7 separate regions of the Homo sapiens genome follow, and regions 1, 2, 4, 5, 6 and 7 are each linked to region 3. The links are contacts of gene promoters, found by promoter capture Hi-C in blood cells and fetal thymus (Javierre and others, 2016). All regions are on one chromosome and are shown on one strand. Each heading gives the region's core, a stretch centred on a gene start or on the middle of the fragment in contact. The rest is flanking DNA. Distances are from core to core; before and after follow the strand shown.

Region 1 (3,175 bases), core at 652-3,151, 2.2 Mb after region 3:
AATTTCTACACTAAAGGCAGATGGGATTCTGATAGGCATTGCATTGAGTCAGTAGTTCGACTTGATTAGTATTGCAGTCTTAACATTTAAGTCTTCCGGTCTATCGACATGAGATTTAAAAATTTTGTTTGGGTCATCTTTAATTTCTTTCAAAAATGTTTTATAGTAGCTGTGTGTTTCTTTTATATATGTGTGTTTTAAATGTATGTTTTACATATGTGTTTTATAGTAGCTGTACAGTAGCTATATGTTTTTTACCTTAAGATTTAGTGGCTACCTTGAGATCATCTTGGCAAAAACTCATGAGTGATCACAAAGGAGACTTTTCTTCTGGAGCACACCAAATCTGCTTGTTTCCTGTGATGTTAACAGTGTCTCTTGATCTCAGTACTCATTCCTTTCTGCTTTTCCATCAGTGTGCAGCTGACCCCTAAGGCTGCTTAATGCACTCTCCACCTTTCCAAGGTAATGTCTTTCTTTCTGTATACCTGATGTTCTATAGAAATCATAGGCAAAGGCACATATTTTATCTGCTAGAGTTTCACGATGTATAGTTTGTCCTGAAAGCTTTCATTAGTCCTGCAGTCAAGAAAACAGTTATAATCCCACAATTCCTAAGGTCACTTGAGCACAGAATACTTTCGTATAACCTATCTATTACATCTTGTAAGTCTTAGCATACCAATTTTAGGAAAAATCTCTAGGGAATTCATAGAGTCAACTTCAGACTTGCTTATCCAAGTAAATAGCTTCATAATCTTTTCCTCTACTTTTTTTTTTTTTCATTTTTTCCATGGTACCCCCAAAGGAAAAAAGAAAAACTTATTTCAAATCTTTGTTTTTCATTCTACCTCAGCAGCTTCATTTCTTTTTTTTCTTTTTTTTTTTGAGACGGAGTCTTGTTCTGTTACCCAGGCTGGAGTGCAGTGGTGCAATCTCGGCTCACTGCAACCTCTACCTCCCGGGTTCAAGCAATTCTCCTGCCTTAGTCTCCCAAGTAGCTGGGACTACAGGTGCGTGCCACCATGCCCAGCTAATTTTTTGTACTTTTTAAAGATGGGGTTTCACCGTGTCAGCCAGGATGGTCTTAATCTCCCGACCTCGTGATCCACCCACCTCGGCCTCCCAGAGTGCTGGGATTACAGGCGTGAGCCACCATACCCGCCCTTTTTTTTTCTTTTTGGAGACAGTCTTGCTCTGTCGCCCAGGCTGGAAGCTGGAGCGCAGTGGTGTGATCGTGGCTCGCTGCAACTTCTGCCTTCTGGGTTCAAGTGATTCTTCTGTCTCAGCCTCCCGAGTAGCTGGGACTACAGGCGCTTGCCACCACGCCCAGCTAATTTGTTTTTTGTTTGTTTGTTTGTTTTTTGTTTTTTTTTTTTAGTAGAGACAGTTTTACTATATTGGCCAGGCTGGTCTCAAACTCCTGACTTCGTGAGCCGCCCGCCTCAGCCTCCCAAAGTGCTGGGATTACAGGTGTGAGCCACCGTGCCCCTCATTTCTTATTATTTTGGCTTGACAATCTCTTCCATAGATAAGCATGTTTATTACAAGATAACTATATTCTCAGTATAGGTTTTGTTTGAGGCTAAGCGGGATAATCATTGACTTTTTAGTAATCAAAACATCCTCTGATAATTAAAAAGCAATCACCCAGCAGTACACAATTCATCATCTCCTTACACCTTTGCTCTCCTGCAAGCCCCTAGTAAAGTGCCATTTTATTTTTTTGCACGTTTGTGTCAGTTCTAAGCTTCAGAACCACACTAATAAGTTATTTCCTCTACACATTCAAAAAGTGGAGTTTTTTTCCTAGTAAACTAGCCTTGTTAACCCCAAATTGTTTGGGGCTTTAAAATTGTGGAGTCCCTTTATCTTTCTGCTGTTCAATCTTGTCTGTTTTGCTCAGCTTTCTAAGAGATATAGGACACTCTAGCCAACCACATATTCTAAATTCTTGAATAAAACTTAGATCCTGAATCTGTTTGTTGAGAGGATTGAATAATTTAGAAGGAAACCTCAAGTACCCGTATATTTTTCTACCGTAAAGCTTACAATAGGGTGTCTCTTTTTTTTCACCACTAAGAATTCCTTTTGTTATTTTTTTCTTCCATAGACCATATGTTTGAAATATTGTCTGTTAACAACCCGAACTTACTAAATAATATACCATTTTTTATTTATCATCCATATTTGGGCTGTCATAGCTTTTGTGTTCTTTGAGCACAATTTGAAACCATTAATGTGCTACAAAGACCATGGACTTCGGCAGTGAACAAACCTGGATTAAAATCCCAGTTTTTGGCTGGGCCGGTGGCTCATGCTTGTAATCCCAGCACTTTGGAGGCTGAGGTGTGTGGATCACCTGAGGTCTAGAGTTTGAGACCAGCCTGGCCAACGTGGTGCAGTCCGTCTCTACTAAAAATACACAAATCAGCCGGGCGAGGTGGCATGTGCCTGTAATCCCAGCTACTCGGGAGGCTGAGGCAGGAGAATTGCTTGAACCAGGAGGTGGAGGTTGCAGTGAGCCAATATCGTGCCCCACTGCACTCCAGCCTGGGTGACAGAGTGAGAGTCCGTCTCAAAAAAAAAAAAAAAAAATCCCAGCTTTGCTGGTTGGTAATGGTGTGATGCTGGGCACGTTATTTATTGGTACTTCCAATCTCTTCATCTTTAAAAATAGGGATGATCTCAACTTTGAAGGGTTGTTAGAAAGATTGATGAATGTGGATGCTCTAAGCATAATTCTAGGCACGTAATTATCACAGGTTAAATTTTACCTGTATTTTGTGAAGTGCATTTTAATGTCTCTGATTATATGCTGGTTCCTGGCAAAATAAAGCCTTTTAAACCTGGATAGGTGGTAGTTTTTGTTTGGATATCCTCATAATAATTTGCAGCTGGTGCTCTATGAAGTAATCCATGTAGAGGAATGTATAGAAACAAAGAAATGCATGTATTAGTCATGATTGCTTCAGCCTGACTTATATACAACATTATATATTTTATCCTCGTTTATCTTCACTTCTCCCTTGTGGAAAGATTGATTGCATTTTTCTAGTTAACCAGACTTATTACAGTAGTGAATTTTATGCTTCTAGATCTTGATGATAAGAACATTAATGAGTCTAGTGTTTGATCTGAAGATGTATGTATCTTAATATAATTTGCTATTATA
Region 2 (3,163 bases), core at 467-2,966, 2.2 Mb before region 3:
AAGACTGCAAACAATTTGCCAAGAATCAGGTGGTCATTAAGCAAGCTGTTCTCACTTTTCACATAAAAAGAAGAAATGGATTTAAATTAGGGAAAGGACATTAAGTTACACACTCTATTAACTTTAATGATATTAGAATTGACTAGCCAGGGAAAGTTATAGCATCTTTCTCCTGAGGAAAAAGGAATCAAATATTTGCCCAGCAACAACTGAGCCAGGATAATGTAGGAATTTTGCATAGGCCCTTTATAACATTATTTAATCCTTACACCACCACCAGCACCCTGACCTTCCTCAGTTTACAAATGAAGACACAGGATCAGACAGGTTAAGACATTTCTCCTAAGTTCACAAAACTACTAAGTAGCAGGACTAAGAGGCAAACCAAAATTGGTGGGACTACTAACTCCATGCTGCCTCTTAGTGATGTGGGTTTATAATAGGAAAGATGAGGTACACAATAGCTTCCTATCCCTTGATACTGTTTACTACTACTGAACCAACTATGGGAGCTGGAACTATTCTACATTAAGTTCACCTCCTAATGTTACACTGATCTCTCCAGCCTCCAAATTCTTCGCTTTATGCACTGCTTATTTTGGCACCCAATCATACTCCATCTTAAAATGTTATGCTAAGTATTCATACCCTATTTCTCCGAAGAAATCTGTAGGCTTCCAAAAGGTAGAACTGTCTTTTACACTTACATACCTACCCATCAATAGAGTTCAGCACCGACTAAGGATTTGATGTCCTTATTTCCACATTCGCAAAGCTCAGCAGTATGTTACAATGGATGGTGGTTTGTTCACATTAGAATGAAGTGTGGTTGTAAAGTAATACAGTAAAACTGTTCTACCAAGATTCTCCTTAGTATCTCCTTACTGATATTTACTTGTCAAATTTTTATCAATAATCTTATAATGAGACACAAAAACGCCTAAAATGAGAAAAGTGGCGTTAGTATCTGATAAAACGGGATTTGGTGCGCTACTATTTAGCTAACTAATACTAGTGTCCTACACAACATTACGAAATTTTATTTCCCAGTTTCTTCAGTGCAATGTTTTAAAGACCACAGCTTAGACAACTAGGCTGTATGGGCATAGAGTGCATCGCTTTCCTTCACCCCTTTAAAAGAAAAACCTACCTGATAAAATGGAACCATTTTTATATTTAAGTAAGCAAGTCAGAAATAGCATCCAAGACAAAAAAGAACAAATCACGTATCATTACTGTTCAGGTGACTGTCTACTTCCCTGCGGCCACAGTAACCTTTCTTCTGGAGTAAGTCTCAAGAAGGAAGCATCAACCCGTGAACCGACCAACTGACCCCGCAAAATGTCATTCTAAACGAATAGCTATTTTTACATCATACGTGGGGTGGAAGGGAGACAAAGCACCAGCGCTGGAGGCTTGGGCACTTGTGTTCACGACCACCACAGTGTCAAGACCCGACATCGGGAGACCGGGCGCCGGATTCTATCCCCAGACGGGGTCGGGGAAAGGCTCCGCCGAGGCCAGAGGTGGCCTCCAACTCGCACCAGCCCGCGCCGTCACCAGCCCGCGTCCACCGCCGCGCTCCCTCCCCCGGCTCCTCGCCTCACCTGCAAATCCCGCGCGCTCGGAGGCCGCGGCCCGGAAGACCTCCTCTCCTGCTCGCCGGGCTCAGGGCCTCCGCCCTCCGCCATCTTCCGCTGGCTAGCGGCGCCCGCTGCGGACGCACCTGCCGCAACTTCCGGGGCCGGTTGCCTGGCAACCGCAGGAGGGGCGAAGACGCGCAAGGTGCGTGCGCGTCCCCGCTACCCGAACCCGCGCCCCCGCTTCCGGTGCTGGCCCACCTTTTTGGTTTCTCCTTTTTTCTTAAAGGGAGTTTCTCCGCAGGGAAACCTCTGTTAAGTTTTGTGTTGCTCCTGCTACTCGCCTAAAGGCACTGTAGGCCGCCCTAGAGGGCAGCATAGACTTGCAGATTCATTTAGCTCAACAATGAAAACATCCTCTGGATTTTTCATCTGATGAAAAATTGCAACCTCTCCATCTAGTCTTGGTCAGATTCTCTGATCTTTCCTATCAAGGATTGGATGGTACATCGTCACCACAGCGTGAATTAGCACTGAGAGTGAAAAACACCGTAAAAAGTGCTTGGAATAATTTGCTAAAAGCAGAACTCTGCCGGGCCTGTGGCTCACGCCTGTAGTCCCAGCACTTTGGGAGGCCGAGGCGGACGAGGTGATCGAGACCATCCTGGCCAACATGGTGAAACCCCTTCTCTACTAAAAAAAAAAATATATATATATATATATATATATATATATATACACACACATATATATATACACATATATACACACACATATATATATACACATATATATACATATATATACACATATATATATATATATATACACAAAAATTAGCTGGGCGTGGCGGAGCGTGCCTGTAGTCCGAGCTACTGGGGAGACTGAGGCAGGAGAATCGCTTGAATCAGGGAGTCGGAGGTTGCAGTGAGCCGAGATCGCGCCACTGCACTCCAGCCTGGCGACACAGGGAGGATCCGTCTCAAAAAAGAAAAAAAGCAGATCTCGAGACTATCAAGCCCTCGTCATTCAACTGAAATTGATTTAGACTCTGGTCTTCTTATCCTAGGCACTTTTTGTTTTTGAGACGGAGCCTCGCTCTGTCGCCCAAGCTGGAGTGCAGTGGCGCGACCTCGGCTCACTGCAGCCTCCACCTCCCGGGTTCAAGCAATTCTCCTGCCTCAGCCTCCCGAGTAGCTTGGACTACAGGTGCGTGCCGCCATGCCCGGCTAACTTTTGTATTTTTAGTAAAGACGGGGTTTCACCATGTTGGCCAGGATGGTCTTGATCTCCTGACCTCATGATCTGCCCACCTCGGCCTCCCAAAGTGCTGGGATTACAGGCGTGAGCCACTGCGCCTGGCCTCCTAGGCACTTTTATGCCCAAGGGATGCAAAGGTAAAAAGAAATAGTCCCAGTCATTATGAAACTCAGTCTAGTAGGGAAAAGAGACATGTAAACGGGTAAGATGCAGCTTGCAGTAGAGCTTTGCTTGGGAGGGTTACAAAGGAAATGTGAGCCATGTGAGGGGAAATACTCCGTTGGTATCTGCTGTGTGCACCATGCTAGGTGCTGGAGTCGACA
Region 3 (3,348 bases), core at 489-2,988:
AAGGATCAGACAACCTTGCATTAAATTTAAGTTTCGTGCCTTACATGAAAGTATCCTACTCTATATTTTATTGTCAGTCAGAAATTCTTCAAAAATAATACCTAGGTAACATCACATATACCCAGTTCGAGTTTGGTGCATGAGTTTCTTCACATTTCATTTCCTTTTCCTTCCGGATTCTAAATACAAGGCACTCTAAGTTTGGATTTCCGAAAGTCCCCTCCTTTGCATGAGTTCCTCGTGTATTAACTGGAATTGAAGAGGAAATGTCAATTTACAGTGAGGAGCGGGGCTGAATTACAACATCGAGTGCTCCGCTAAAGGGGCCTTGTCTATTACTTTTTGAATGTACTAAATAAATGTTACAAGGCTCTACTACTTGCAGAGCATAACCAGAAAGAAAAACCAAGCAAAGATATGAAGGAGGGGCCACAAAACCATAGCACATTCAGGGGATAACTCTAAAATCCACTCCAAAGGGCAAACTGCTTAATAAAGCAGTTCCTGATTTCCCATCCAGTGGTTCACGTCCCCCCTCTCTAAGTAGCTTTGAAAGGGCAGGGGGAAGGAAACGTTTCTGAACACGTTCATGCCCACACGCCCCGTGGTCGGAGCCCAGGCAGGGTCCGCGGCTCTGCTAAACCCGGAAGCTGCACACGCCGTGCCGTTAACCCACTGCCAGGTGCAAAGTGGAAGGGGGCAAGAAGTCAAGGGTGGCCTGCCGGAGGTGGGCGCGCAGGGCAAGGAGAAACGAAGGGCGAACCCGAGGCCTCGCCGCCTTCCGCGGTGTAGCCCGTCAGCATCTGATCCTGGACGGCGCGCACAGGTGAACACACCTTGCTGTGCCGAGACCATGCCGAGAGAGACAAGGGGCGAGGAAAACGCAGGGAACTGGGGGTGGGGCCGGTAACTGCGCTTCAGAGGCTACACAGGAGAGTGGAAGAAGAGCTGGGGTTGCCCGGACTAGGCAGAGGTCATCTTCCTCGCCCCCGGAGCGAACAGACCCGTGTGGCGGGAGGAAGAGCAACGGGAAGAGGTCCGCGCTGCGGCGAAGCCTGGCGGGAGCGCCTCCGCGCCGCAGAAGTGCATTCGGGCCCCGCTACGGCCCAAGGGCACCCCTCTCTCCCCGCTTTTCTGCGGCCGCTTCGGAGGTAGGGCGGGGGAACCACTCACCTCCGGCCTCCGCTTCGCCAGCACCCAGGCCGTCTCCAGCTCCAAACACGTCAATGGCTCACGCAGCAGGACCTTAAGTAGCGCGCATCCCAACTTGCTGCCCCCGCTCCCCGGCGGCAGCCCGCCCAATCGGCGCGCGCCGCCGCCAGACTGACAGCCGCGCGGGGCCCTGGGCCGCAGGGGCGGTCGGGCCTCGCCCCGCCCCCGCCTGGCGAAAGGAGGGCCGAGGCGGGAGGAGTGGGCGGGGCGGTGAGCGCGACCCCGCCCCCTCTTCCCCCGCCCCACCGCGCCCCCCAGCCGCGGCCCGTCTCTTAACACTTCGGCTTGACGGGCGGCGTCGCGGCCCAATGGGCGGGCCAACTCCCGCCAGCGGCGGCTCCGAGTGGCCAGCTCTCGGGCGGAGCGCGCGCGGGGGGCGGGCGCAGCGGCGGGCGGGGTTTGGGGGCGGGCCGACGGGAGGCGGGGGCGGTGGCCGAACAGGCAGGGGGAGGCAGCGGTGGGCGCGACGTCGGCGGCGGCGGCGGCGGCGGCGGCGGCAGCTGCAAGTTGGGCTGCAGGGGCAGCGCATACACTACAATGGCTGCTGGAAAGAGGCGTAAGGAAACAATTTCCAGGCCCGCCGCGTCCAGCCCGAAATATGAGAAAAAAATTATTAGAAATTCCGCGGGCGGTGTAGAGGCGGCGGACGGGCCGGAGGGAGGATGTTAAAGCCCCGCGGTGAGTTCTCCGGGGGTCCGGGGCGGCGGCGAGGCGTTTAGCGGGAGAAATATCAGGGTTATTTAAATTATGGGACTAGCCGAGGGGGCAGAGGAGCAGCGGCGGCGGCAGGAGGAGGAAAAGTTTGTGCTACTCTCAGCCCCTGCTCAGGACCCCAGAGAGAAAAATAATAATAAAAAATAAAATAAAATAATTACGCGGGGCTGCGAGGACTCCCGAAGTCGCTTCTGACAGGGCAGGGGGCGATGCGGCTGGGGACCCGAAGGTGAGGTCGGTGGGAAAAAAAAAAAAACCTTTATTCAGGGTCTGGAAAGTTTGAAAAGTTTTCCTCCTCCTCCTCCTCCTCCTCCTCTCTGGTGCTGTGAATATTGTGACAGCGGCAGCGGCAGCAGCGAGAGCGGAAGACATTAGAGACCCGAAAAATAAGGGAAAAATTAATATAAATTCAGTTTTGAGAGTAAACTCTCCGCATTTTCCACCAAAACATCCCGGGGGAAGGTCGCTTCCCAAAGGGCCTGGCGGAAACCCGCAGTCGGCAATATTTGGGGGGCACTTTGAGTGACTTGGGGTAACTTTGCCCCTTTTTCAAAAGAGGTTTTTCTTTTCTGGAGAAATGAATTTGTTTTTGCCCTTTCCTCAGGTGGGCAAGCCGGGGTCGGGGTGCGGGGTCTGCAGGGAGGTGTGAGCCCGGGGTGTGTGGCTGCGAGGGGGGGTAGGGGGAGGGGGTGCTAAATGAAAGCAGGAGATCGGCACAGAGCAGGGACAGCTTGTTGTCAGTATCATAAACAACCAAAATGGAGGGAGAACTCAGGCATATAACCAAATAAAAATTTTTAAAAAATCGCAAAAAATCCCTAAAAATCCGGGATGCTCCCCCTTTTCTCGCTAAAGGTAAAAGTATGTACCGCCTTTCCCCTGAAGTCCATTTTGACTTTGCAGGGACCAAGGAGTTAATATTTATTTATTTTTTAAAACTTTCGAAGGGCAAAAGCCTTTTATAACTCAACCGACAATGAGAAAACGTGAAAATCCGATGCAAGAGAAGCAGGGGGAGCGAGGGGGGAGGTGGTAGTGCAGAAACTGCTAAACTTATTGGTAATGTGGACTGATCTCAGATAAGATAAACACTATATTTGCTATTTTATAACTCTCTTTTAATGATCTTTGCGGGGTTTTTTTGGGTGGAAAAAAAAGTGATGCCATTTTCTTAATAGAGTTAATATGTGTGATTGGAAGAATGAACCTTTCCGGCTTTAGATTGCATTTTCGTCGCATTTATGCTTCAGGTTTTGTTAGTGGCTCCCTCCTTTCTTTAAACTGGGCTCTGCAGAGGAGGGATAGAGAGGTGATGGTGCTCAGAGAGGCTGGAGTGCAAGGCTGGAGTACCTTTTGGGGAGGGATGTGGAGTTGCTTGGTTTCCCCCTTCCTGACATGTTTGCTTCACCTGTTCATCCTTCC
Region 4 (3,393 bases), core at 795-3,294, 2.1 Mb after region 3:
TTGACTTCTGTGCACCTGTAGGCTCAACACCACGTGGAAGCTGCCAAGGCTTAGAGCTTCCACCCTCTGAAGCCACAGCCCGAGCTCTACGTTGGCCCCTTTCAGTCACAGCTGGAGCGACTGGGACACAGGGCACCAAGTCCCTAGGCTGCACAAAGCACGGGGATGCTGGGCCTGGCCCACGAAACCTCTTTTTCCTCCTGGCCTCCAGCCTGTGATGGGAGGGGCTGCCATGAAGGTCTCTGACATGGCCCGGAGACATTTTCCCCATGGTCTTGGAGATTAACATTAGACTCCTTGCTACATATGCAAATTTCTGCAGCTGGCTTGAATTTATCCTCAAAAAATGGGTTTTTCTTTTCTACTTCATCATCAGGCTGCAAATTTTCTGAACTTTTATGTTCTGTTTCCCTTTTAAAATGGAATGCTTTTAACAGTACCCAAGGTATCTTTTGAATGCTTTGCTGCTTAGAAATTTCTTCTGCCTGATACCCTAAATTATCTCTTTCAAGTTCAAAGTTCCACAATTCTCTCAGGCAGGGGCAAAATGCTGCCAGTCTCTTTGCTAAAACATAACAAGAGTCACCTTTGCTCCAGTTCCCAACAAGTTCCTCATCTCCATGAGACAACCTCAGCCCGGACTTTATTGTTCATATCACTATCAGCATTTTTGTCAAAGCCATTCAACAAGTCTCTAGGAGGTTCCAAACTTTCCCACATTTTCCTATCCTCTTTTGAACTCTCCAAACTGTTCCAATCTCTCCCTGTTACCCAGTTCCAAGGTCACTTCCACGTTTTCAGGTATCTTTTCAGCAACGCCCCACTCTACTCGTACCAATTTACTATATTAGTCCATTTTCACGCTGCTAATAAAGACATACCCAAGACTGAGAAGAAAAACAGGTTTAATTGGACTTAATAGTTCCACATGGCTGGGGAGGCCGCAGAATCATGGCAGGAGGTGAAAGGCACTTTTTACATGGCAGCCACAAGAGAAAAATGAGGAAGAAACAAAAGCGGAAACCCCTGATAAACCCATCAGATCGTGTGAGACTTATTCACTATAATGAGAATATCGTGGGAAAGACTGGTCCCCATGATTCAATTACCTCCCCCTAGGTTCCTCCCACAATGCATGGGAATTCTGGGAGATAAAATTCAAGTTGAGATTTTGGTGGGGACACAGCCAAACCATATCACCATGTAATTCCATTCCCCAGCATATACCCTAGATAACTGAAACCGGGGACTCATTTCTTGCACTCTAATGTGCACAGCAGCTTTATTCACAATAACTCAAAGGTAGAAACAGGCCAAATGTTCATCAACAAATGAGTGGATAAACAGTTGTCATATATACATGCAATGGAATATTATTTAGCCATCAAAAGGAATGAAGTACTGGTTCATGCTACAACATTGGATGAACCTTGAAAATATATTAAGTGAAGGAAGCCAGACACAAAAGACCACATAGTGTATGATTTCATTTACATAACATATCCAAAATAGATAATTCTGTAGAGATAGAAAGCAGATTAATAGGCTGGGAGTGGTGGCTCATGCCTGTAATCCTAGCACTTTGGGAGGCTGAGGCGGGTGGATCATCTGAGGTCAGGAGTTCGAGACCAAATTGGCCAACATGGTGAAACCCCATCTTTACTAATAATACAAAAATTAGCTGGGCGTGGTGGCAGGCACCTGTAATCCCAGCTACTTGGGAGGCTGAGGCAGGAGGCAGGAGAATTGCTTGAACCCAGGAGGCAGAGGTTGCGGCGAGCTGAGATCACGCCATTGCACTCCAGCCTGGGTGACAAGAGTGAAACTCCGTCTCCAAAAAAAAAAAAAAAGAGAAAGAAAGCAGATTAGTAGTTCCCAGGGGCTGGAGGCAGGGAGAGATGAATACAGACTGCTTAATGGCTATTAGTTTCCTTTTGGTGTGATGAAATGCTTTGGAACTAGATGGAGGAGGTGGTTGCACAACACTGAGAATGTATGACATTCTGCTGAATTGTTTTCAGTTGTCAACTTTATGGTATATGAATTTCACCCCAAGGTTTAAAAAACTTCTGTGAAGATGAAATGTCTTTTACCTTGTTTCCTACAGCCTTTCTTTGCTTTTTTGTTCCAAAAAGGTCTTTGAGATCTCTGTAACGCAATGCTTCCTTCAGGCACAGCATCCTGATGCACGCTGCTCCCTTTGCACAGAAGGATTGCTCTCATCGCCTCACTGGGCTCACTCTCAACCCTTGTTTTGTCACTTCTAAAGGAATCCTTCCCTGATTTCACTTACTAAATCAGATTACCTTCTTGTATGCAGTCGTGTCCCACATAAACACCATTTCCAGCACTTATCTTCATTGCAATTTTATATTCATTTGCGTGAACAACTCTGCTTTTAGACTATCAACTGCATGAGGGCAAAGACCATGTATTTTATTCAGCATGGAAGACCCAGAGTTTGGGACTTAGGAGGTACTCAATAAACAAGCCTTGGAATGATTAATCAAATAAATATTTGAAAATTATCTGCACAGTGCCTTGTAGGCCAAGCAGGGCAGATAATCTGAGGTCAGGAGTTGGAGATCAGCCTGGCCAACATAGTGAGGCCCTGTCTCTAATAAATATATAAAAATTAGCGGGGTGTGGTGGCACACACCTGTAATCCCAGCTGCTCTGAAGGCTGAGCCAAGAGAACTGCTTGAACTTGGAAGGCAGAGGTTGCAGTGAGCTGAGATCGAGCCACTTGCACTCCAGCCTGGGCAACAGTGTGAGACTCTATCTCAAAAAAAAAAAAAAACAGTTCAAACATAGAATAACCATATGACCCAGCAATTCCACTCCTAGGTATATACCCAAAAGAATTGAAAGCAAGAATTCATGGCCAGGTGCGGTGGCTCATGCCTGTAATCCCAACATTTTGGGAGGCCGAGTCGGGGGATCACCTGAGGTCAGGAGTTCGAGACCAGCCTGGCCAACATGGTAAAACCCTATCTCTACTGGAAAAACACAGAAAATATTAGCCGGGCATGGCAGCACATACCTGTAATCCCAGCTACTCGGGAGGCTGAGGTAGGAGAATCGCTTGAACCTGGGAGCTGGAGGTTGCAGCAAGCCGAGATTGCACCACTGCACTCCAGCCTGGGTGACAGAGTGAGACTCCATCAAAAAAAAAAAAAGCAAGAACTCAAACTTGAAAACCAATGTTCAGGGCAACATCAACCACAGCAGCCAAAAGATGGAAACAACCCAAATGTCCCTCAACAGAGGAGTGAATAAATAGAATCTGGTATATACATACGATGGAATATTATTCAGTCTTAAAACGGAAGGAAATTCTGACAGGTGCTCAAGATGAATGAAGCATGAGACATTATGCTAAATGAAATAAGC
Region 5 (3,467 bases), core at 358-2,857, 2.1 Mb after region 3:
ACTGCACTCCAGCCTGGGTGACAGAGCGAGACTCCATCTCAAAAAAAAAAAAAAAAAGAAAAGAAAATGTAGTTCTAGGCCGGGTGCGGTGACTCAATCCTAGCACTTCGGGAGGCCAAGGAGGGCGGAGTACTTGATGTCTGGAGTTTGAAACCAGCCTGGCCAACATGGTAAAACCCCATCTCTACTAAAAAATACAAAATGTAGCCGGGCATGGTGGCATGTGCCTGTAATCCCAGCTACTCGGGAGGCTGAGGCAGGAGAATGGCTTAAACCCAAGGTGGAGGTGAAGGTTGCAGTGAGTCGAGATTGTGCCATTGCACTGCAGCCTGGGCAACAGAGCGAGACTCCATCTCAAAAAAAATAAAAAAGACAGAAAAAAAAGGAAAATGTAGCTCTGAACTCTGAAACGTTAAATTTTTGGTCACAGTCAGGATGTGCTATATTTTTCTCTAATTTCAAAGCAGATTCTGATAAAAGCAAAAAGATGGCAGCATTACCACTCTATGGCAATAGAAAGCTTTCATGAAGCTGAAAGAAAGTGGCTCCCAGTTTAGCTCCTTCTATTATTAATTTTTCATGTATTTCAAAAATATTCCATCAATTCTAAGATGCATTTTCACACTTTTTTTATATCCAATACTGGTATATGTTTAAAATCAACAGTACCTTTGATTCAATAAAACAGGGTCTTGCTGTATCATTTGTGATTTTTAAGCAATCCATAGTTTGCTTAACCATCTCCCTATTTGGGGGCATTGGTGTCAGTTCCAGTATTTTCAGTAGTATAAATAGCATTTTTAGGACTATCTTTATATCAGGTTTCTTTCATTTTGCTTTTCCTTGAGAACATGTTTCCAAATTGATAATTTTGTGCTAAAGGATCAAAACTGTCTTATTATTCACTATTTACTACAAATCTGAAATCACAGAAGTAAATCAGTTAACAGAGCTATAAATAATGTGTCATTGCAATTACTTGACCAGTGCCCTGGGGTAAAGTTTTCAGGGTTATTTTTATTAATCTAATAGACAACACCTAAGGATGTTGGGATGTGCAGTTTAAGGGCTGATAAGGTCATGGATTTCCATATGTTAAGTTACATGTGTATTTCTTTATATACACTCAGGGTAGAATACTGAGGCTTAATCTTGTATTTGGTATTCTCTTTTCAAATTACTTTATTTGGAAAGTTTTTATCCATACAGTTCACTTTTTCAAAAGAATCTGAAAGGTTTTTTCATAAATATATGCTTCCCTCTAGTGGACACTAACTTACTTATACAACTGTATTATTGGCAAACAGTAGTTGATTAACAATGTACAAAAAATTTGGCCGACGGGTAGCTCACGTCTGTAATCCCAGCACTTTGGGAGGCCGAGGCAGGCGGATCACCTGAGGTCAGGAGTTCAAGACCAGCCTAACCAACACGGTGAAACCCTGTCTCTACTAAAAATACAAAATTAGCCTGGCATGGTGGCACATGCCTGTAATCCCAGCTACTTGGAAGGCTAAGACAAGAGAATCGCTTGAACCCGGGAGGTGGAGATCGCAGTGAGCCGAGATCGTGCCACTGCACTCCAGCCTGGGTGACAGAGTGAGACTCCATCTCCAAAAACAAAAAAAAAGCAGAAAATTAGCTGGGCCTGGTGGCAGGTGCCTGTAATCCCAGCTACTTGGGAAGCTAAGGCAGAAGAATCACTTGAACTCAGGAGACAAGAGGTTGCAGTGAGCTGAGATGACACCACTGTACTCCAGCCTGGGCCACAGAGTGAGATACTGTCTCAAAAAAAATAAAGAAGAAAGTAAAGCAATGAATCAAAGCACCTGCCCTCAAGGGAGCTTATATTCTAGTGAGGAAGACAATGAAAACAAATGCATAACTTGGTAATAAATGTCAAGTGCTCATATATATTCAAAGAAAAATACTTTGGGCAGAGTAAAGGAAACACTGTGACTCCTGAAGCAGGGCAAGTGCTCTTTTAAAAAGACTCTCAAAAAAGACCTTCCTGGCCAGGCGGGGTGGCTCACATCTGTAATCCCAGCACTTTGGGAAGCTGAGGCGGGCAGATCACCTGAGGTCAGGAGTTCGAGAACAGCCTGGCCAACATAGCAAAACCCCACCTCTACTAAAAATAAAAAAAATTAGCCAGACGTGGTGGCACGCACCTGTAGTCCCACCTACTCAGGAGGCTGAGGCACGAGAATAGCTTGAACCTGGGCAGCAGAGGTTGGCAGTGAGCTGAGATCGCGCCATTGTACTCCAGCCTGGGAGACAGAGTGAGACTCCATCTCTATTTAAAAAAAAAAAAAAAAAAAAAAAAAAAAGATCTTCCTGATATGTTGACATTCAAGCAGAGAACCAAAAGAAGGGGGCGCCGTGGGCGGTGGCTCACGCCTGTAATCCCAGCACTTTGGGAGGCCAAGGTGGGTGGATCACGAGGTCAGGTGTTCAAGACCAGCTTGGCCAATATGGCGAAACTCCATCTCTACTAAAAATATAAAAAATTAGCCGGGTGTGGTGGCGCACGACTATAGTCCCAGCTACTCAGGAGGCTGAGGCAGGAGAATTTCTTGAACCCAGGAGGCAGAGGTTGCAGTGAGCCGAGATCGTGCCACTGCACTCCAGCCTGGGCAACAGAGCGAGACTCCATCTCAAAAACAAAAACAAAAAAAAAAGAAGGCAAGCTTTACAGATATGCAGAAGAGCAGCATTCCAGGACCAAGGGACAGAGCCCTGCCATGATAGTATGACAGCTTTCCAAAACCACAGCTATCACCACTACATAACAGTTATAAACACAAATGGGCTAAAAATAAAGGGGGTAGAGTACTGATTATCTGGAAATCAAAAATATCTCCTACGGGCCAGGCATGGTGGCTCACACCTGTAATTCCAGCACTTTGGGAGGCCGAGGTGAGCAGATCACTTAAGGTCAGGAGTTCAAGATCAGCCTGGCCAACATAGTGAAACCCTGTCTCTACTAAAAACAAATAAAATTAGCTGGGCATGGTGGTGGGTGCCTGTAATCCCAGCTATTCAGGAGGCTGAGGCAGGAGAATCACTTGAACTTGTGAGGTGGAGGTTGCAGGAGCCGAGATTGCGCCACTGTACTCCAGCTCAGGCAACAGGGCAAGACTCTGTCTAAAAAAAAAATCCTCCTATATAACACCAAAAGATCTAATCAAGACTTACCTCCTCAACCAGCTGGACACCATAATCCCTTTTAAGTGGCTGGATGGTCACACCTCTCCCATTGACAAGCTGGGTTAAGTCAATAGGTTGACTAGGATCAACACGACCCAAATCAATAAGATACTGCAGTCTATTGAGACTCAAAGGCTTATACTGGCGTCTGAAACTGTAAAACAAGAATGTAAGAGTTGGAAAACTCTCATCTTCCTGTAACTTCTCGAAATCAACTCAAAGCTTTGTCTTGTGTTTTCCTCCACCAATTTTATTTA
Region 6 (3,431 bases), core at 402-2,901, 2.2 Mb after region 3:
GAACCAGTCCCCAGATGCTCTAACTTATCATCTGTAAATCTTCTAAGTTAGCAACTTAGTGTTTGGATTACCTTAATTAGGGAGATGTTTGGATTACCTTAATTAGGGAGATGTCAGAATTCTGAAATTATTTAGAAGATAGAATTCAGTAGAAAGATTTGTTGATACAATATAGTGAAAAGGTGTTACTGATTTGGTGTTTGTTGAAATTCACAGATAATGTATATTGTAATACACATTGTGACATAAACATAGGGACAGAAATTAATGATCCAGGCCAGGCACGGTGGCTCACGCCTGTAATCCCAGCACTTTGGGAGGCCAAGGTGGGTGGATCACTTGAGGTCAGGAGTTCGAGACCAGCCCAGCCAACATGGTGAAACCCTGTCTCTACTAAAAATACAAAAATTAGCCGGGCATAGTGGTGCACGCCTCTGTAACTCCAGCTACTCCGGAGGCTGAAGCAGGAAAATCACTTGAACCCAGGAGCCAGAGGTTGCAGTGAGCCAAGATCGCACCACTATACTCCAGCCTGGGCAACAGAGCTGAGACTCTGTCTCAAAAATAATAATAATAATGATCCAGAATAACAAGTTCATGTGGGAGTCTGTATATTTGATATTCATTCATTACAGTATATAGAAACCAACTCAATACCTCAAGCAAGGAGTAAGCAATGAGTCTGTGGCATCCTATCAAGGAAACTGAGGAGGAAAATGAGGCAAGGCCTCAGGAAGTAGCTAGAAATTGAAAAGCAGTTGGGCCTTGCTCACCATCTCTCATCTCTTGTTTCTTTGCTTGTCTGTTTCATTTACCTTTCCATAAACAATTGGCCATCTTGGCTTTTGCAGCCTATAGCTTTTCCAGCTCTTGAATTTACATGTTACAGGTGTAGCCACACAGAGAGTGACTGGTGGTCATCGAATCCCATTTCCACAGTGCCAGGAGAAAACATCACTGCCTGGGATGTGAAAGGCTCTCGTGTACTCATGTGTTGCAGTAACCCATGGGCATGGTCAGAGTGATGGGGCTTCTGGATGCTGGCAGGAGTACAGCTTCCAGAATGTGGGATGTTGTGAGCTGGGTAGGCAGATACTCTGAAGGTGTCTGCTAAATAGTTATTATTATCTTAAATTCTCATTTAGAAAGTAATACCAATTTAAGGGCCAGGCACGGTGGCTCACACCTGTAATCCCAACACTTTGGGAGGCTGAGGCGCGTGGATCACCTGAGGTCGGGAGTTTGAGACCAGCCTAACCAACATGGAGAAACCCCGTCTCTACCAAAAATACAAAATTAGCCGGGTGTGGTGGTGCATGCCTGTAATCCCAGCTACTCGGGAGGCTGAGGCAGGAGAATCGCTTGAACTCAGGAGGCGGAGGTTGTGGTGAGCCAAGATTGCACCATTACTCTCCAGCCTGGGCAACAAGAGTGAAACTCCATCTCAAAAAAAAAAAAAAAAGTAATACCAATTTAAGAGCAGATTGGATTTTATGCCTAAAATTCTGCAAAGGAGAAAATATAAATTCAGAATATTCGTAAGGCATGTTGTAAGTGCAGCAGTTTCCCATGGTACAAACTATGTCTCGTCGGAAAGGAAGTCTGTATGTTCTCTGGTGTAGAGAACCGCATCCTTTAGGACACGGTGGGGTGTGTTTGTATTTCCGATATTTGCCTGATTTGATTTGACACCAGCCACCAAGTTTGATTTTTTTATGGATATCATTAGTAACAAGATATTCCCTAAATTGCTGTGGGCAAGCATGTGTGTTCCATTGACTTTCCCTGCTTGTCTTTTCAGGGAGGAGCTTTATCTTTATATACTGCCCTTACCACACAGCAGAAACTGGCAGGTGTCACTGCACTCAGTTGCTGGCTTCCACTTCGGGCTTCCTTTCCACAGGTAACTTGGTTGATGCACTCAACATGAGATTACTGAGCTAAAGGTAGCTAGTAGATATTGTTGGAGATAAAGTCATCTTATTTTTTTTTATTAATAAACTTTATTTTTTGGAGAAGTTCTAAATTCACAGCAAAACTGAGCAGAAGGTACAGAGTTACTATCTACCTCCTGTCCCCACACATGCACAGCCTCCCCACCATCAGCATCCCCACCTCCACAGCCATGTTTTTGCTGCAGTCAGTAATGCTGCACTGACACATCACCATCACCAAGTCCTCCACTTACAGCACTCATCCTTTTTTAAAAATAATTTTCTTAGACTTTTGTGATGTATTACTAGGCCTTATTTCTGTACGCTATACTGTCTGTATTGTGGAGTACATAGAATGGAATTAGAAAGAAACCTTATTGTCACAAATCTTATATTAGAAGGATTTGATACATTTTAGGATATATATGAAAATTAGGACTTTTTTTAACATATAGAAATCATACTTATTTTTAGACCAGGTGCGGTGGCTCATGCCTGTAATCCCAGCACTTTGGGAGGCTGAGGCGGGTGGATTACCTCAGGTCAGGAGTTCAAGACCAGCCTGGCCAACATGGTGAAACCCCATGGCTACTAAAAATACAGAAATTAGCTGGGCGTCGTGGTGCACACCTATAATCCCAGCTACTCAGGAGGCTGAGGCATGAGAATCACTTGAACCCAGGAGGTGGAAGTTGCAGTGAGCCACGATTGTGCCACTTCACTCCAGCCTGGGTAACAGAGCAAGACTCTGTCTTTGGGGGAAAAAAAAAAAAAAAGATAGCTGAATAAAACAGCAACTCAAAATACTAAAACAACCAACCAAACAAACAAAAAAAAGCTGAAAATATAAAGATGGATTAAAATATAATCTGCTTGGCTGGGTGCAGTGGCTCACGCCTGTAATCCCAGCACTTTCGGAGGCCAAGGCAGGTGGATCACAAGGTCAGGAGATTGAGACCATCCTGGGTAACACAGTGAAACCCTGTCTCTACTAAAAAATACAAAAAAATTAGCTGGGCGTGGTGGCACGTGCCTGTAATCCCAGCTACTTGGGAGGCTGAGGCAGGAGAATTGCTTGAACCTGGGAGGCAGAGGTTGCAGTGAGCTGAGATCACGCCACTGCACTCCAGCCTGGGCAACAGAGCAAGACTCCGTCTCAAAAAAACTAAACGAAACAAAAAAATGTATATATAATCTGCTTCAAGGAACTCATTCACTGGGAAGATATATATTATAATATGAGGCAAGGTGATCATACATCCTATAGAAGTCAAAGGGATGTGGTGAGTATATGGATGAAGGAATTTTATTTTTTTGGCCAAATGTAACTTCTAATATGTTATATATATGCATATTTATGTACAATTTTAAATGCCTGGCATAGTGTCCTATACTTTTACAAAAATAAAACTATTTCTTCTTTTGCTTTTTGCAGGGTCCTATCGGTGGTGCTAATAGAGATATTTCTATTCTCCAGTGCCACGGGGATTGTGACCC
Region 7 (2,992 bases), core at 106-2,605, 2.1 Mb after region 3:
GATTTTCCAATTCTGTCATTCCTTTTTTTTTGTCATTCCATTTTGTTTATTAATCTGCTACTCCCCATTTAGTTAGTATGGACTCAGATTTATTTTCTATTTATTTATTTATTTGTTTATTTTTTGAGACAGAATCTCGCTCTGTCACCCAGCCAGGCTGGAGTGCAGTGGTGCAATCTCGGCTCACTGAACCTCCACCTCCCAGGTTCAAGCAGTTCTGCTGCCTCAGCCTCCCAAGTAGCTGGGACTATAGGTGCGTGCCGCCACACCCGGCTAATTTTTTTTTTTTTTTTTGAGACCTTGTCTCGCCCTGTCGTCCAGGCTGGAGTGTAGTGGCGTGATCTTGGCTCACTGCAACCTCTGCCTCCTGAGTTCAAGTGAGTCTCCTGCCTCAGCCTCATGAGTAGCTGGGATTACAGGCACGTGCCACCACGCCTGGCTAATTTTTTTTGTATTTTTAGTAGAGACGGGGGGGTTTCACCATGTTGGTCAGGCTGATCTCAAACTCCTGACCTCGTAATCTGCCCTCCTCAGCCTCCCAAAGTGCTGGGATTACAGGCGTGAGCCATAGTGTCCAGTCAGATTTTTGTAGTTTTAGTAGAGACGGGGTTTTGCCATGTTGGCCAAGCTGGTCTCGAACTCCTGACCTCAAGTGATTTGCCCACTTCGGCCTCCCAGTCCCTCCCTGGAATTACAGGCATGAACCACTGTGTCATGCCTGGACTCAGATTTATTTAATAGGTTATGTTCTATTCTGTTATGTTTTAAACTTTTTAACTTTTCATTTTAAATAACTTGAAATTTACATAAAAGTTGCAGAAATAACATTTATAGCTCCTTATACCTTTCACCCAAATTACCCAATTGTTAATATTTCTGAACTATTAAAGAATAAGTTGCAGGCGTGTTGCCTCATTACAGCTTAATTCTTCAGTGTACATTTTTAAGTACCAGGACACTCCAGTATAACCATCATTAAGAAGTTAACACTGATGGTATACTACGGTCTAATCCACCAGCTCCATTCACATTTCATTGATTTGAGCCAATAATGTCCTTTATCAGTCTAGGATCACATATTGCCTCTACTTATCATTTCTCTTTAGTTTTCTTTATTCTGAAACAGTCCTTGTCTTTCATGACCTTGACACTTTGTCAAGAATACAGGCCGGGTATGGTAATACCAGTGCTTTGGGAAGCTGAGCATGAGAATCGCTTGAGCCCAGCTGTTTGAGACCAGCCTGGGCAACAGCCAGACCCTGTGTCTACCAAAAAAAAAAAAAAAAAGTGTAAGCCAGTTACTTTGTAGAATGTCCCTCAGTTTGGGTTTATCTGATGTTTTGTGATTTATACCTTTTTGACAGTAACACTATAGGGGTATTGCTGTGTCCATAACAGTGCATCATATTAGGCAGACCTCATGATGATTTTGTTGTTACTGATGTGTTTTATCACTTGGTTAAGATGGTGTCTGCCAGGTTTCTCCACATTAAAATAATAAATATAACATATGAAATATTTAAAATATTGAATATGTAATTAAAATATTAAAAAATATTTTGTGGGGAGATACCTTGATATTATAACATATTCCTGATCCCCACCATATGTTCACCCATGGATTTAGCACCCATTAATGATTATTGCCAGAATCTATTGTTGTGGTAGTTGCCGAATATCTTATGATATTTAAATATTTAAAGTTAAAATATGGTCTTTTAATTAAATTTCCTTTGTTCTGGCCGGGTGCAGTGGCTCATGCCTGTAATTCCAGCACTTTGGGAGGCTGAGGCAGGAGGATCATCTGAGGTCAGTAGTTCAGTACCAGCCTGGCCAACATGACGAAACCTCGTCTCTACTAAAAATTAAAAAACTAGCTGGACAGGATGGTGCATGCCTGTTGTCCCATCTACTTGGGAGCTGGAGGTTGCAGTGAGCCAAGATGGTGCCACTGTACTCCAGCCTAGGCGACAGTGAGACTCAGTCTCAAAAAAAAAAAAAATTCCTTTATTCTGGATTTATTATTTAGCAGTCTACTGTGGGGTAGAGCTTTCCTTTCTCCTTTATTTATTACTTATGTAGATACTCATTTGTTTCAAAATTTTAAATCAGTACAGACTCTTGGATTCCTATTGTATTCAGAGGATAACAATCAAGTTAGTTATTTATTTTGATGCTCAAATTGTCCTTTAGTTGGCCACAGTAACCCTTTCAAGCTGGTACTTGGTGTCTTTTGGACATATCCTCATTCTTATTTGATCACTTCCTCACTTTATGGTACAAGACTTTTTCTAGGATTGTCTTATATGTTTCCTGCTCTAGTCCTGGACTCAGCCATTTTTCCAAGAACCCTGGTTCCTTTTAGTAGACAGTGAGATCTGGATGCTATATGTGCTCCCAGATCTAGACCCTTGCAGTGGACAGAGCTAAGAATATATGGACATACATACATATGTACACACATATCAGTTTTAGTATTTATAAGTATTCAAAATCTTGAGTTTATAATGATTCCTCCAATTGCAGCCCAGCACCACAGGGTTTATTATAGCCTTCTCCCTTTCCATATTTGTAATTCCGTGAGGAACCTGACTTCTGTTCTTGGGGGGTTCTGGCCAACAGTGCAACTGTGGAGTGTGCCCCTCCAGTTGCACCAGCTCACAGCTATGCTTCATTCATGGGACCTCTCCCCATCTGCTGAATATCACACCTGAAAGCTCAGTTCCAATTAAGGGGAAACGAGGAGGAGGAAAGGCCTGGTGGAAAGCTTGGTTCTCTTCATGTGTCCCCCTCCCTGCTACTCCCCAGCCCCGATGTATTCCAGGAATTACTTATCTGTATTACCAGTCCCTGTGACATTTCCTAGACCAAGGAGATTATAAAAGTATAGAGAAGAATGTTTGAAAGATAAAATAAGTGGTTGACTGGATCAGATTTTACTGAGAGGTCAAACAAGGTGAGGATTTAAAATAAATTGGCAACATGGATATGT

Evidence for each region. Contacts are between HindIII fragments. The CHiCAGO score rates a contact against its expected background, and 5 or more counts as called.
Region 1: a fragment that was not itself captured here is called in contact with the fragment with the promoter of PLAG1 in region 3 in 1 of 17 cell types (activated CD4 T cells); the score reaches 5.9 in activated CD4 T cells.
Region 2: the fragment with the promoter of UBXN2B here is called in contact with the fragment with the promoter of PLAG1 in region 3 in 1 of 17 cell types (M2 macrophages); the score reaches 5.0 in M2 macrophages.
Region 4: a contact is called between a fragment that was not itself captured here and the fragment with the promoter of PLAG1 in region 3, in 1 of 17 cell types (non-activated CD4 T cells). The highest score is 5.4, in non-activated CD4 T cells.
Region 5: a contact is called between a fragment that was not itself captured here and the fragment with the promoter of PLAG1 in region 3, in 4 of 17 cell types (total CD4 T cells, naive CD8 T cells, activated CD4 T cells and 1 more). The highest score is 12.5, in total CD4 T cells.
Region 6: a contact is called between a fragment that was not itself captured here and the fragment with the promoter of PLAG1 in region 3, in 1 of 17 cell types (activated CD4 T cells). The highest score is 5.6, in activated CD4 T cells.
Region 7: a fragment that was not itself captured here is called in contact with the fragment with the promoter of PLAG1 in region 3 in 6 of 17 cell types (activated CD4 T cells, naive CD8 T cells, non-activated CD4 T cells and 3 more); the score reaches 10.4 in activated CD4 T cells.

Annotation. Positions count from the first base shown.
Region 1 is chr8:54,000,182-54,003,356 of GRCh38, reverse strand. The region is part of intron 13 of LYPLA1-TCEA1 (LYPLA1-TCEA1 readthrough); the gene reads left to right. All of the region lies in intron 2 of TCEA1 (transcription elongation factor A1), which reads left to right. Among named protein-coding and RNA genes, the nearest start is that of TCEA1, 21 kb to the left of the region's middle. The HindIII fragment of the contact is 297 bases long and covers 1,753-2,049 here.
Region 2 is chr8:58,409,914-58,413,076 of GRCh38, reverse strand. UBXN2B (UBX domain protein 2B) reads right to left here and starts at 1,716. Exons shown (of 8, transcript NM_001077619.2): 1 at 1,608-1,716. The coding sequence starts at 1,691. RefSeq lists enhancers at 1,271-1,320, 1,601-1,650, 1,661-1,720. The HindIII fragment of the contact is 12,087 bases long and covers 1-3,163 here.
Region 3 is chr8:56,209,663-56,213,010 of GRCh38, reverse strand. It overlaps PLAG1 (PLAG1 zinc finger), which reads left to right and starts at 1,738. Exons shown (of 5, transcript NM_002655.3): 1 at 1,738-1,890. It overlaps CHCHD7 (coiled-coil-helix-coiled-coil-helix domain containing 7), which reads right to left and starts at 1,222. Exons shown (of 4, transcript NM_001011671.3): 1 at 1,174-1,222. RefSeq lists an enhancer at 1,044-1,113 and silencers at 1,126-1,351, 1,194-1,753. The HindIII fragment of the contact is 9,849 bases long and covers 1-3,348 here.
Region 4 is chr8:54,157,766-54,161,158 of GRCh38, reverse strand. No RefSeq gene overlaps it. Among named protein-coding and RNA genes, the nearest start is that of MRPL15, 24 kb to the right of the region's middle. The HindIII fragment of the contact is 6,436 bases long and covers 1-3,393 here.
Region 5 is chr8:54,137,165-54,140,631 of GRCh38, reverse strand. MRPL15 (mitochondrial ribosomal protein L15) reads right to left here. Exons shown (of 5, transcript NM_014175.4): 3 at 3,199-3,364. Among named protein-coding and RNA genes, the nearest start is that of MRPL15, 3.7 kb to the right of the region's middle. The HindIII fragment of the contact is 2,170 bases long and covers 523-2,692 here.
Region 6 is chr8:54,051,127-54,054,557 of GRCh38, reverse strand. LYPLA1-TCEA1 (LYPLA1-TCEA1 readthrough) reads left to right here. Exons shown (of 21, transcript NM_001425842.1): 7 at 1,802-1,903; 8 at 3,370-3,431. LYPLA1 (lysophospholipase 1) reads left to right here. Exons shown (of 9, transcript NM_006330.4): 7 at 1,802-1,903; 8 at 3,370-3,431. Among named protein-coding and RNA genes, the nearest start is that of TCEA1, 30 kb to the right of the region's middle. The HindIII fragment of the contact is 4,437 bases long and covers 1-3,431 here.
Region 7 is chr8:54,094,045-54,097,036 of GRCh38, reverse strand. All of the region lies in intron 2 of LYPLA1-TCEA1 (LYPLA1-TCEA1 readthrough), which reads left to right. All of the region lies in intron 2 of LYPLA1 (lysophospholipase 1), which reads left to right. Among named protein-coding and RNA genes, the nearest start is that of LYPLA1, 6.4 kb to the left of the region's middle. The HindIII fragment of the contact is 2,828 bases long and covers 1-2,769 here.